Linked DNA regions of Homo sapiens: region 2 is linked to region 1. Evidence: promoter capture Hi-C in human tissues and cell types (Jung and others, 2019). All regions are on one chromosome and are shown on one strand. The core of a region is centred on a gene start or on the middle of the fragment in contact, and the rest is flanking DNA. Distances in the headings are between cores, read along the strand shown.

Region 1 (5,903 bases), core at 1,026-3,525:
CAGGCACAGGCTTTCCTGTGCTTCACACCACGGGGCCAGGGGCAGTTACTCCATCTTTAGATCTTTAGTCCATGTAGCTCATGGAGCAATGTAATGGACAAAAAAGTTTTAAACAATGATGTCCTGGCATAGAAATTATGTAAATCACCAGGGATTTTATTCCTGTTCCCAGTGTATATTGGACTAAAATGTTTTCATTTAACATCTTTTGCTTTTTCTAATTTCATAACATTTACATCTATCAATTTTCCATTGATTTTGAAGTAGTTGAATGGGTTGAAATTGCAGCTTCAGTCACAGGCAAACTGGCACAGATTTGTTTTCAGACCAGCCACGTTCCTCCTCAGTGTTCTGGACAGAGGCCTCCTTGTCTGTTCTTCCAAGAGTCCCTATTTCTGCTGATGGAACTGCCTTCCTTGGAATTACACAGGCTCTTCACCTTGGTGTCTCCATGGACACCTCCCCTTTGTCTCTCCTTGGCCTCCTCCTTTACTCTTACTCCAAATCTAATCAGTGCCAAATCTGGAACTCTTCTACCCGCCCAGTGGTGCATTCCTTCCTCTCTGGTCCAGCCATGGCCACCAATTCTGGCCTCCCCAGCACCTGCCTCATTTCATGCTGGCCTCCCTGTCTCAAGTCTTGTTCCCTCCTTAGAATGTTTCCTAGACATAGCTGACAAATCAGTCTTCCAGAAAAAGTGATCATGCGATTTCCTTGTTCAATACCATTGAGGTCTCTCTCTCTCTCTCTCTGTCTCTCTCTCTCTTTTCTATTTTATTTTATTTTTCTGGTTCTTAGGAAGTGTGCAGAGGACTCTCCCTTAATGTGGAGAGAGAAAGTCCATACTCCTCAGTCTGTCCTTTAAAGCCTGGTCACATCCAAACAACTCAGTGTTAAATCCCACTGCTGCCTCTTATATCCCCAGTGCACCAACTACTCACTGACCTCTGCACTTGCTTAGAGCAAGTCCACTGTTACTTACGCCTGCAATGCCCCTCTGCTACTGGCTCTGTATATTCAAACATTCCCGTTTTCAAGGTTCAGCCGAAATGTCCAATCTCCAGAAGCCTTCCCTGGCCGCCTTAGATGAAAGGGATCTTTCATTCCTAATTCTATGATGAGAGACACTTTTCTTTGCTAGGCATTGCTGTTCCTCCCCCGACCCTCCCTATCTCCAACACATGACCTCCCTCTGCTGGGAATTTCCTGGGGGCCGCCCTCTGTGACTCTCCCTGCATCTTCCACAGGGACCCAGCAACCTGCCGTGCCCACAGCAGCCTCTGCACAACACCCAAAAGTTTGTACTAGCTTAGATGTTCACGTTTCTCTTCTCCCACACCCTGCTCATCAGGTAGGGAACTTTCCCAGTGAAAACGGAACTTCCCTACTACAATACCAAAACAAGTCAATGTTGCCACTTGATCAAGAACTCTTCCATTTTTGAAATATTTCCTAATGAGCTCAGTTGTCACAGACTGCACCCTGGGGACAGGTCAGACCAGAAAGCAGAGGATGTCACCTGGGCAGGACCAGGGCTGCTCCACGCTGGTGACCACAGGCTGGGTGTTTTGTGCCCCCGGAGGGTTAGGACACACAGCAGCCAGTCGCAAAGGGCGCAAAGGACCAGCGCTTAGTGGGCGGGGCGGGCAGGGGAGAGTCCCGGGAGTTGTACCCTGTTGAATCCCAGCTCCAAACTTTTCCCTCCGTCAGCGCGGAGCCCTCCACCAGCCAGGACTGGCTGACGCCGTGATGCCACAAAAGCCGGGACCGGAAGAGAAAAATGCGTGGGATGGGGAAGGCAAAGGCGGTTATTTTCAGAACTTCGGGGGCTCCCGGGCCTGCCCTTCGGGTTCCCGAGGATGCGAGGCCAGCGTCCGGCCGCCCGCGGGTCCGGACCGGCGCCTGCCCGGGACCGGATGGGCAGCGATTGGGATGCAGATGCCGCTCTGGTGCTGATGCTGCGGCTGCCGCGTAGTGACAGCCGCTCCACCACCCACCGCGCCGAGCTGCGGCTCCGCGCCCCCGGGGGCGCCCGGCGCGCCTGGTCCGCTCCGGCCCCGGGCAAGGCCTGCGGGCTGCGGCGGGCGGCGGGGCCCAGGCCGCTACTCACCCGGAGGGTTGACCGCCGCCGGGGTTGCCATCTTGCTCGGAGAGGATAGGCGCCCGCTTGGCAGGGGCGCGGGAGGGGCGGCGCGGAGCCCGGCGCTCAGCCCCGGGGACCCGGTCAGGCCCAGGCGCCGCCGCCGCCACACAAAGGACGGCGCGGGCGGGCGGCGCTCCCTCCGCTCTCCCCGCCGCCGCGGCCGCTCGCCGTCCCCGCCTTTCTCTCCTCCTCCTCCCCCTCCTCGGCCTCCTCCTCCCGGTTCAGCCTTTGTCGCGCGGCGGGGGGCGCCCGGCCCGCGGCTCCCCGGTCAGAGCGGTAGCACCGCGAGACTTGGGGCTGCGGACGGCGGGACCCCCAAGTTGGGCGCCGGCGACTGGCGGGGGCAGAGGGCCGGGCGCTCCCTCGGGCTCGCGCAGGTGCTCGGGCCTGGCCGGGCTGGGACCGCAGGCGCCTCTCCCGCGCTCGCCTAGCCCGGGCTGCCCCCGCACGCCCACGCCCCAGGTGTCCGGGCGCGCTTTACCCAGGGGCGCCGTGCCCAGGCCAGGAGGCCAGGGCGGAGCGGGTGAGGGAGAAGCCCATTTAGATTCAGAGGGAAGCCGGTCCTGGGAGACGGCCGCGAGGAACAAAGGCGCCCCAGTGCTGCCCACTTAGCATGCCAGAGCCGCGCTGCTCGGCTCCCAGGCCGGGGACACGGCCCGGTGTTAAGCGGAGGGTGCCCGACCGCGGGAATTCCTAAGGCCACGCGCACCTCCAAGGCCACCGCCGCACACAGCTTCGGAGTGCACAGTGCACACGCCCAGGCACAGGCAGCCGGCCCGAGAAATTGTGAATGTCTTGGCTTTGAGTAAGGCGCTCATCTCTACCCTCCTTCCATAATGACTGCCGTTGATTATTACTTGAGGGCGCTGCAAGGGCCTTATTTACACCACCAAGTTGAGAATTTAAAAAGATTTTTTTTTTTAAATAGGTTTATCTGCGTATCCTGGCGAAGTTTGGATGCAGAGAACTTGGAGCTGTTGTTTTCTACCAGACACTAGGATCCCTGAGAGAGGTAATGGCCCCTAGGAAGGACACGTCACCATCGGGGTCCCCTGTAAAGGTTAAATGGAAGAATAAAGACATCCCAGGTGAACGCTGAGAAGGGCAAGTTGGTCCCTAAACGCAGATAATGTTTGCAGAGACATCAAACTGTCTTAAATCCTTCCAAGGAAGCATTTTCTGGAGGGCAGAAAATTTGGGATGTATGTTCAAATAAGCATTTTCTTCGGGGAGTATTTGTCACTACTAATCTAATAGTCTATCAGTTCTACAAATGTTGAATGTCTGCTGTGTGCCAGGCACAAAGCCAGGTGTTGGGCCTACCATGGAAAGGAAGAAACAGGAGCTCTGTTCTTCTGGTTTGGGGGGTAGAGTGGGGAAGAGTGAAACAAAGTATCTGCACTCAAGAAGCACACAGCTCCCTTGGGGGCTTAGGGCAGAAGCCCTGAAATTGGCATCTCCAGCCTGTAGTCACTAATGAATGAATGAGGGCAGAGAGGAGGTGGAGTGATCAGGGAAAATGAAAATTAGGCTTTGAAGACATGAGTAGGACAGGTGGAAAAAGAAGACATTTCAAGTAAAAAATAAAGCAGGTGTGCACCCAGCCACAAGATAGGCCAGGCCCAGACAGAGAAACCAGGGTATCAGCTATGGCCCGCTCTTGTGCCCCGTATCAAAGTTGACTGTTCCTGATTCCAACATCAAGCCAAATGAGAATTCAGCCTCTCTTCTACATACCCCGAAAAGCAACACACTCAAAATACCAACTTAATTAATGTATAACGTATACTGGACTGAAGATTTCTTAAGGAAAGTAAAAGAGGAGGCTCTCTTCACTCACTCCACATCAAAAAAGGTAAAACTCCATCTCAGATATTTCTGCTACCCAGAGTCCCTTCTGGATCCTTCTCCCCACAGGCAGTTCAATCTCTGGTGGCCCATAAATAGCCCATAAATAGCACTTGGCATCACTGCCCCCTATCCCACGAGGCTCTTTTATTCTCCAACTTTCCACACCCCTTAGAAGGAAGCAAGTTCCTCTCCTTGGTGTTTATGTATCAGTTTAGCATTTCAGCCAGGACCCATGGCTCATTTTGTCTCCAAATACAGTTCTAATATCATCCCTAAAAAATAAAATATGAGTGAACATGACTCTTACGCACACACACATTTAACCATACAAATTTGTTGACAAGTTTTACTTTCTTACTCTGCTGTTGTGTTCTGCCCATTTTTCTAAATGTTACTCGGCTGATATCTTTAAAACTGGATCTTGCTCAAGCTTCCTACTTCTTGCACTGGTCCATTGCAATAAAAGACAGGCGACACGTGGACAACTGCTAGACACTTCCCAAGTCTGGAGTCGGCCGTGCTGTGGTTTTTGGTACGTAATAAATACGTTTAGATTTTCACAAAGGAGACATTTCATCTTCTCCCCCAGTCAGTGTATTTCAGAGGTAGAAAGGACCTTCGACATCATCCAATTCTGCCCCTGGAGTTTGCAGATAAGGAAACTGAGGCTCAGGGTAGCCAACGTCATGCAGCTTAATAGCCAGACAAGACTTAGAACTGGGCTACGCACAATACTGGGATTTGGTGGCTGGAGTTGGGGAGCGGTTAGGGTGTAGGGGAAGAAATAGAGAAATGGGCAACTCGCCTTCTCTCTCGTCTCTCAGTATTAAATAGGTTAAATGCTCAGAAACACTGATTGTGGATGAAAGCCCCCCACTTAAGTAAACAATCTGAAATGGAGTGGTTAGTCATTGTTGAATACTGAGTGGCATTTACACAACACAGTGGTCTTGCGCTAATTATGAGAGTCAGTAGACTGTGACCAGTTAACACAGGCTCAGGAATTCCACTCAACCTTTAAACAACCCAGAACTCTTTGAAATTCCAGAGGAGGCTGTTGAATTTGAAGCTGAGATTTGCATTTTTGAAAAGATTAATGCAGATCCACCGGGCCCATAGCACACGATTCTGAGCACAGCGCTCCTAGAAATGACCAGAGTTGACCAGCTGCTGTGCTAATGTGTACCAGGGTCCACAGCCTTTCTTTCTTTCTTCTTTTTTTTTTTTTTTAACTTGATGGGAGAAAGCAGCCACCTGAGTTCTGCTTCATATCCCTTTAAGTCCTAATACTCGAGACAAAGGATTTCCATTGTATAATATATAATGATCCAAGGCAATTTTATCTTTTTTTTTTTTTTGAGACGGAGTTTCACTCTTGTTGCCCAGGCTGGAGTGCAATGGTGCAATCCTGGCTCCCCACAACCTCTGCCTCCCAGGTTCAAGCAATTCTCCTTCCTCAGCCTCCTGAGTAGCTGGATTACAGACATGCACCACCATATCCAGCTAATTTTGTATTTTTAGTAGAGACGGGGTTTCTCCATGTTGGTCAGGCTGGTCTCAAACTCCTGACCTCAGGTGATCCATCTGCCTTGGCCTCCCAAAGTGCTGGGATTACAGGCGTGAGCCACTGCACCCGGTTTTTTGTTTATTTGTTTTTGTTTTTTGTTTTGTTTTTTTTTTTTTAGATGGAGTCTCGCTTTGTCACCAGGCTAGAGTGCAATGGAGTGATCTCAGCTCACTGCAACCTCCAACTCCCTGGTTCAACCAATTCTCCTGCCTCAGCCTCCCAAGTAGCTGGGATTACAGGTGCACCCCCCACCAAACACTCCCAGCTAATTTTTGTATTTTTAGTAGAGATGGGATTTCACCATGTTGGCCAGGATGGTCTTGATCTTCTGACCTCGTGATC
Region 2 (5,903 bases), core at 1,879-4,378, 330 kb after region 1:
ATTTTAACACAACTTAAGTTTATTCTAGAACGTTACTCAACTAGTTTATAAGCCAGTTATGCCTATTTCATTTAACAGACAAGCTAGTAAAAGTATACATAATTTGTGGTCAATGCCAACAAAGCATGCTCTTAAAGACAAACAGAAACAACATATGTCTAGCACCACTATATGTGTGTAAAGTTAAGTTCTTACCTTTAACTGAAACCTATAAAATACTGGAAAGATGCTGATATACCATTTCAAAGCCTGTAATTATTCATAAAAGTTATCTGTTTCCAAAGTGTATTTTTAAAAACTCAAAATTAAGAAACGCACAAATAATGACAAAGGTTATTCATACATGTTTTTGAGACAGGTAAAGTTAACTGGCACTACTCCAGTCTCCTAATGTTAACTGGCACTACTCCAGTCTCCTCCTAAAAATGTTTCTGATATATTTTCTTGAAAGAAAATATTTCTTCTGGTATGTGCTTACCAGAAGAAAAAGAAAAGCCAGCCTGAATAACAAAGCCAGTGTAAAACATTAAGCCCCATACTTACTAATAGCAACACATACACTAAGTATATAAAATATCTAGCATAGATACAATTGCTCAGTTAAGTGGGTAAAAGTGTTTCCAATTTCCCTCAGCTGATTTTAATATCCAGAAAAATTGCTTTATATCCATCTACATCTTGGAAAGTGGTGTTGAAAATAGGCTTTTAGGCAAAAACTAATCAACAAGTCAGAGAGCTCCATAGGCACACTTTAACAGAACATTTAAGGGGCTACACATCAGAAAAACTTTGAAGCATATTCTGCTGGTGTCGATATAAACTGGTATAACTTTTTAGAAAAACAATTTGGCCAGTGAAGTGTTCATTATCCTTTGATCTAGGTAAAGCCACTCCAGGATTTTTCCAAAAGAAATCTTTTTTAAAAAGGAAAATATTTTACAGCTACACACAGGTGTGTTCAACGCAATACTATTAAAAATGACGAAAAATTAGAACCTAAAAGTAGACAATTCAAAAAACTAGGTTAATTCAGGTCACATCAATTTAAGAGAATTACATAGTTACTGAAATGAAAACAATTTCAACAGATAGTTAAGTGAAAACATAAAACTGCACAGATTCATAATTATTGGAAAACTGCAAGAATATAAGACAGAGAAGGGAACAGGAAAAAAATGAGATGACCAAACAATGATCTGCTGGTGGGTAGATAGGTAACTTTTCTTGATTTCATTATTATTACACTATTGTTTAAACAACAGATATAGCAGAAAAGCATTAATTTAAAAACCTTTGCATGATCCGGAACAAGTAGCATAGCAAATACAATGGCTGAAAATGCTTAGCTGGCTTTTGGTCTGATTATTGCAATGATTATTGCAATTTATACCTTAATTTCTATGAGAACAAAGAGCAACAATATAAAGAAAACAGTCTCTAAAAAATATTCTTGTACTGAAATACACTACAATTACGTCATAAATAAGAAATGTAAATAGAATCAGATACTTTAAAAAAAAGTTGTAGTAGCCTACCTATAGCTTTTAAAAATATAAATCCTTTCATTTCCTGTTTCGAAATGTTAATTACTTATCTCCACCTTTGAAAGAAATGAAGAGTTTGAATGAAGTAAGAAGAAAGCAGTTTCACTTTGTTCATCAATGGCCTTTTTAATTATGAGCATATTAAAAATTATAAGCATATTAAAAATGTCAACATATTGTTAAATTAAAATATACTGAAATTAAAAGGGGTGCTGTGCTGGGGTTAAAAAAATTAAACAGTTGGCATTTCAATTTACTAAAAAAGACGTATTTAAGCCTATCACATTTATCTTTCAGCAACTTAACATTTTAAGTTTAAGGAAAATGACATATCAAATGAACCTCCTCAAGATGTCATTTATAAAAACTGACAACTGACTGTTCAAACAACCAATTCAAAAAAAAATCCTGTTATTGGAGATGATTTTGAGTCTAAGATGTTTTAATGACACTCATATTCTGAACTAAAAATAATGATAGGAGAAAGTCAAGTTTGATTCTCTGAACACCTATTTCCTGTCCAAAGAGCCCTTTTGTTCTGCTTCCCTGCTTAATTTTAGTGTTCAGTTTGCATCAGAAAATAAAAACAGTGACAAAACCTAGCACACACAGAATCATAAAGGAGCAAAATTATAAAATAAAGGATCATAAAAAGATTAGAACAAAAATCCTACCAACAAAACCTCCACAATTTTCTGTTTGCTTCACCTCAGATTAACTTCACTTGAAGCTGTACTCCAAAGCAACCAAACCTGAATACCAAGCTCCACCTTCTCCAATTCTAGTGGCTGAAGAGTAAAATCTCCTCCCTGTTAGTGAAACTGATAATTGTGATTGGATACGGCTAATATCCATTATTTTAAAGAACTTTTCCTTGCTAGCAGGTTAGGTTAGACACACTAAAACCTCCTGGATAAGCTGGTTTCTTAAAGAAACAGTACATAAGGTTTCAGTTTTCCCATCATATACTGTTTGCTTACCCTTGTCTAGGTGAAAAATAAACTAAGTAACAAAAATGAAAATCTCACAGAAGCAGCTGTGACCAATTGTTTAAAATACAATGCTTTTAATCTAAATCATTTATTTTTATGGAGCAATGAAGGTGAAGTTATGCTTTAAAGACAGATTATTTTTAATAGAGTTCACATTTTACCTGAAAATTGTAAAACGGCAACAGAAAATCCATTACAATATGTTGCTAAGAGGAACAAACCAATGTTTTTTTCTAAGACTTAAAGAGAAAACTATAACTTAAGTGAAAATATACAGCACTAAAATACTGAATGCAAAAGATTCACTTCTAAGCTATCAAACTCACTGACATTTATGTTCTCAGTATCACAACAGAGTAGAAATTTCAGTGACATCAAAGGTTGATATTTCTACTTAAAACTGAAGAAAATACTGGGCAGAAATACTATTACATTTAACAGATCTGACATGTGAGTATTTTGCCAAGGTTAATGCTTAACCATTGGCAAACAGATATCTAAAAGCAAAAGGCACATGTTCTAATGACATGTTCAGGTATAAAATTTAGAAAAGTTTAAGTCTTTTTCATCTTTTTTTTTTTTTTAATGTGTGGAAACTACTTTGCACTCCATAACTTCAAAGTGGCATGGGCACCCTAAAGTAAAAGGTATACTCCTCTTAAACTTCTCACTAAGCTACGTTAAATAATATTTTTACTACAGAGATCATAAAGAGACACTACACAGGAACTCTGATTTTTAAGCAAAAAAGACCTACTGTCACTTTATACATTACTAAGTTTGCTATTTTTACGTGATAAGTTTATATATTTTAATTAGAACTGCTTATGTTTTAGCAGCTTGGCCCATCAAACATTACTCTAACATTAATCATTATCTGACTGATTAAATGGCATTTAATGTCTAATTTACGGTGTAAGTATAGTTTTTACCTCTACCAAAAATCCTGTGATTCATAAACTCGAAATTAAAGCTTATTAGAGTGACTTCTTCTTAAAATATGCTTTCAATGTATGGTTTGCATCAGAAAATAAAAAGTGACAAAACCTTTAAACATTTTAATTTGAAGTTTTCAAAGTTCAAAATCTTGCAACTATTTTTCCTCAGAGAAAACTCAAATATTAGAACACAAAGCCAACAAAATTGTTTTGAATACAAAGGGAAGTCTTTGTAACAAACTGAAAATTCACATAATTGCAACTAGGCATGAATATGGAGCAATACCCTGCTGAAGCCCAAACAGCTGCATAATCTATTATGCCCTTTAAGTGGACAAATTGAAAGAGCCAATTCACAGGGGTCTACTCCCAAGATCCTTTGCAAGGATTCACTGTTTTGAATGCCCAGCACTTCATGAGTCAAGTTCAGGTTTTCTTCCCACTGTGTGGACACTCTTGCAAAAGAACACTGGAAGCAGAGGAGGTACAGAAGCAATCAGCAAAAAGAATATACAGTTTGAATTACAGCATAAGATTTGAGGAAAAGTGACTGTAGATGGCCAAAGGTTTTACGGGAAGAAAAAAAAAAGAGATGGCAAACAGTTTAATCTTAAAATCTGGCAAGCATAAAATTAGTAAATAGTTATGGAAACCAAATAAACCTTTGCTCTCGCATCAATTTTTCACTTCGAAGTTAATTATGAAACAAATACGAATCATACACTAATATAACACCAAGACCACTCTCCATCTATACATAACCAAGAGAAAAGAGAACTGTGGACTCAGTGATTCCGGATCATTTTAAGATCTCTGGGACCTGCTTGAAAGAACATCAAGATGATTACCATTTTAGGTAGCAAACAGGTTAAAATTAAGAGTTAGCTTATTTCATTTCTAAATCAGCAGCAGCAGAAAACAACAGCAAAAACAAAAAGAAAGCAATGTCACAACCATAAAATGTATAACCGAGATAATATGAAAACAATATTGCTTCTCAGGAACAAGGAGCCTGCAAAAAGCTCTGGAGCTCCCTGATTGCATGCAGTAACAACACTTTTTAAGCATCAAGTATTCAAAGATGTATTGTATATTATTTGTGGAAGCCCAGAAAGTTTCCCAAATCTTATCAGCTAAAAACAATTTAGAAGAGAACAAGCCACTGAACAATTTGGTCCCACTTCACTTTTGATTAAAAAGACCCTACTTACATAAAGAATCAATATCTAGACTATTAGGAACAACTTTTGGCAGAATATATACAGAACAGGGCAAACACTTTCTTAGAATTTTGAAGGATTCCATATAGTTCAAACTGCTCTTCCTACAAAAGAAATTAATCCTGGGCATTTTCTCTGGCACGACTGGTGGTTTATTGTAGTAGTTGATAAAAAGACCACCCTGACATTAGCAAAACATAACTGGGATCACTAAGGATAAACTCTGAAAAACACCTCAATGGGGAATAAAAAATAAAAAAATATGGCCAGGTGTGGTGGCTCACGCCTGTAAATCCCAGCACTTTCGGAGGCAGAGGCAGGTGGATCACAAGGTCAGGAGTTCAAGACCAGCCTGGCCAAGATGGTGAAACCCCGTCTCTACTAGAACTACAAAAATTAGCCTCGTGCAGTGGCAGGTGCCTGTAATCCCAGCTACTTGGGAGACTGAGGCAGGAGGATTGCTTGAACCCGGGCAGCAGACATTGCACTCCAGCCTGGGCTATAGAGTAAGACTCTGTCTCTAAATAAATAAATAAATAAATAAATAACAAAAAATAAAAAAAATATTTCCCTGGCAAAAGTAAGATATATTTGAGCCTGCAATTCCTGGTGTATCTCTCCTGACTCCTTAGGGAAAAGATTACAAGGTGTGTATGAGGAGTTGGGGAGTTTGAATGAATGGCATATGAGGTCAAACACTGAACACAAAGGAAACATTAAGGAAACATACAAATAAGCAAGCATAAACCAAGCCGATAGGATAAGGTATCTTTCTACAAAAAAACAGTACATTGCTTTGTTTTAGGTCTCAAGGGATAAACAAGGTCACTGATTAATGCAAAATAAAAAGAAACAGGGATCACAATAGTGAGACAAAAATAAAAGAGAAGGCATTTATAATACTCAACTATTAAGATTTTAAGTCATAAATTTTCATGTGCCAAACAACATATCATAGATCATCTAAGAAAAAGTGCTAGACATAGAAAAACTAAGAGAAAATAGACTGGCCAACTTTAAATTCTCTCTCTCCTTGGAGGCCTAAACCAGAAAAAAATAAATAAAATATTACATAAAAGACGAAGACTCATTCTTTATATAGTTACTGAAAGAGCTTTTCTCAACCATTTTAATCAGTCACAAAGAAAACAATTCTGAAAAGCAAAAGCTGAATAGGTAACATTCTCTGTAAACTATGCAATAACATTC

The links. Contacts are between HindIII fragments. The study calls those that stand out against the background at their distance.
Region 2: a fragment that was not itself captured here is called in contact with the fragment with the promoter of ARNT2 in region 1 in 1 of the 25 tissues and cell types used here (hippocampus).

The regions. Positions count from the first base shown.
Region 1 is chr15:80,400,754-80,406,656 of GRCh38, reverse strand. It overlaps ARNT2 (aryl hydrocarbon receptor nuclear translocator 2), which reads right to left and starts at 2,275. Exons shown (of 19, transcript NM_014862.4): 1 at 2,111-2,275. The coding sequence starts at 2,141. ARNT2-DT (ARNT2 divergent transcript) reads left to right here and starts at 2,461. Exons shown (of 6, transcript NR_184070.1): 1 at 2,461-2,666; 2 at 3,072-3,155. RefSeq lists an enhancer at 2,344-2,844. The HindIII fragment of the contact is 10,967 bases long and covers 1-5,524 here.
Region 2 is chr15:80,068,963-80,074,865 of GRCh38, reverse strand. The region is part of intron 1 of ZFAND6 (zinc finger AN1-type containing 6); the gene reads right to left. Among named protein-coding and RNA genes, the nearest start is that of ZFAND6, 12 kb to the right of the region's middle. The HindIII fragment of the contact is 4,965 bases long and covers 646-5,610 here.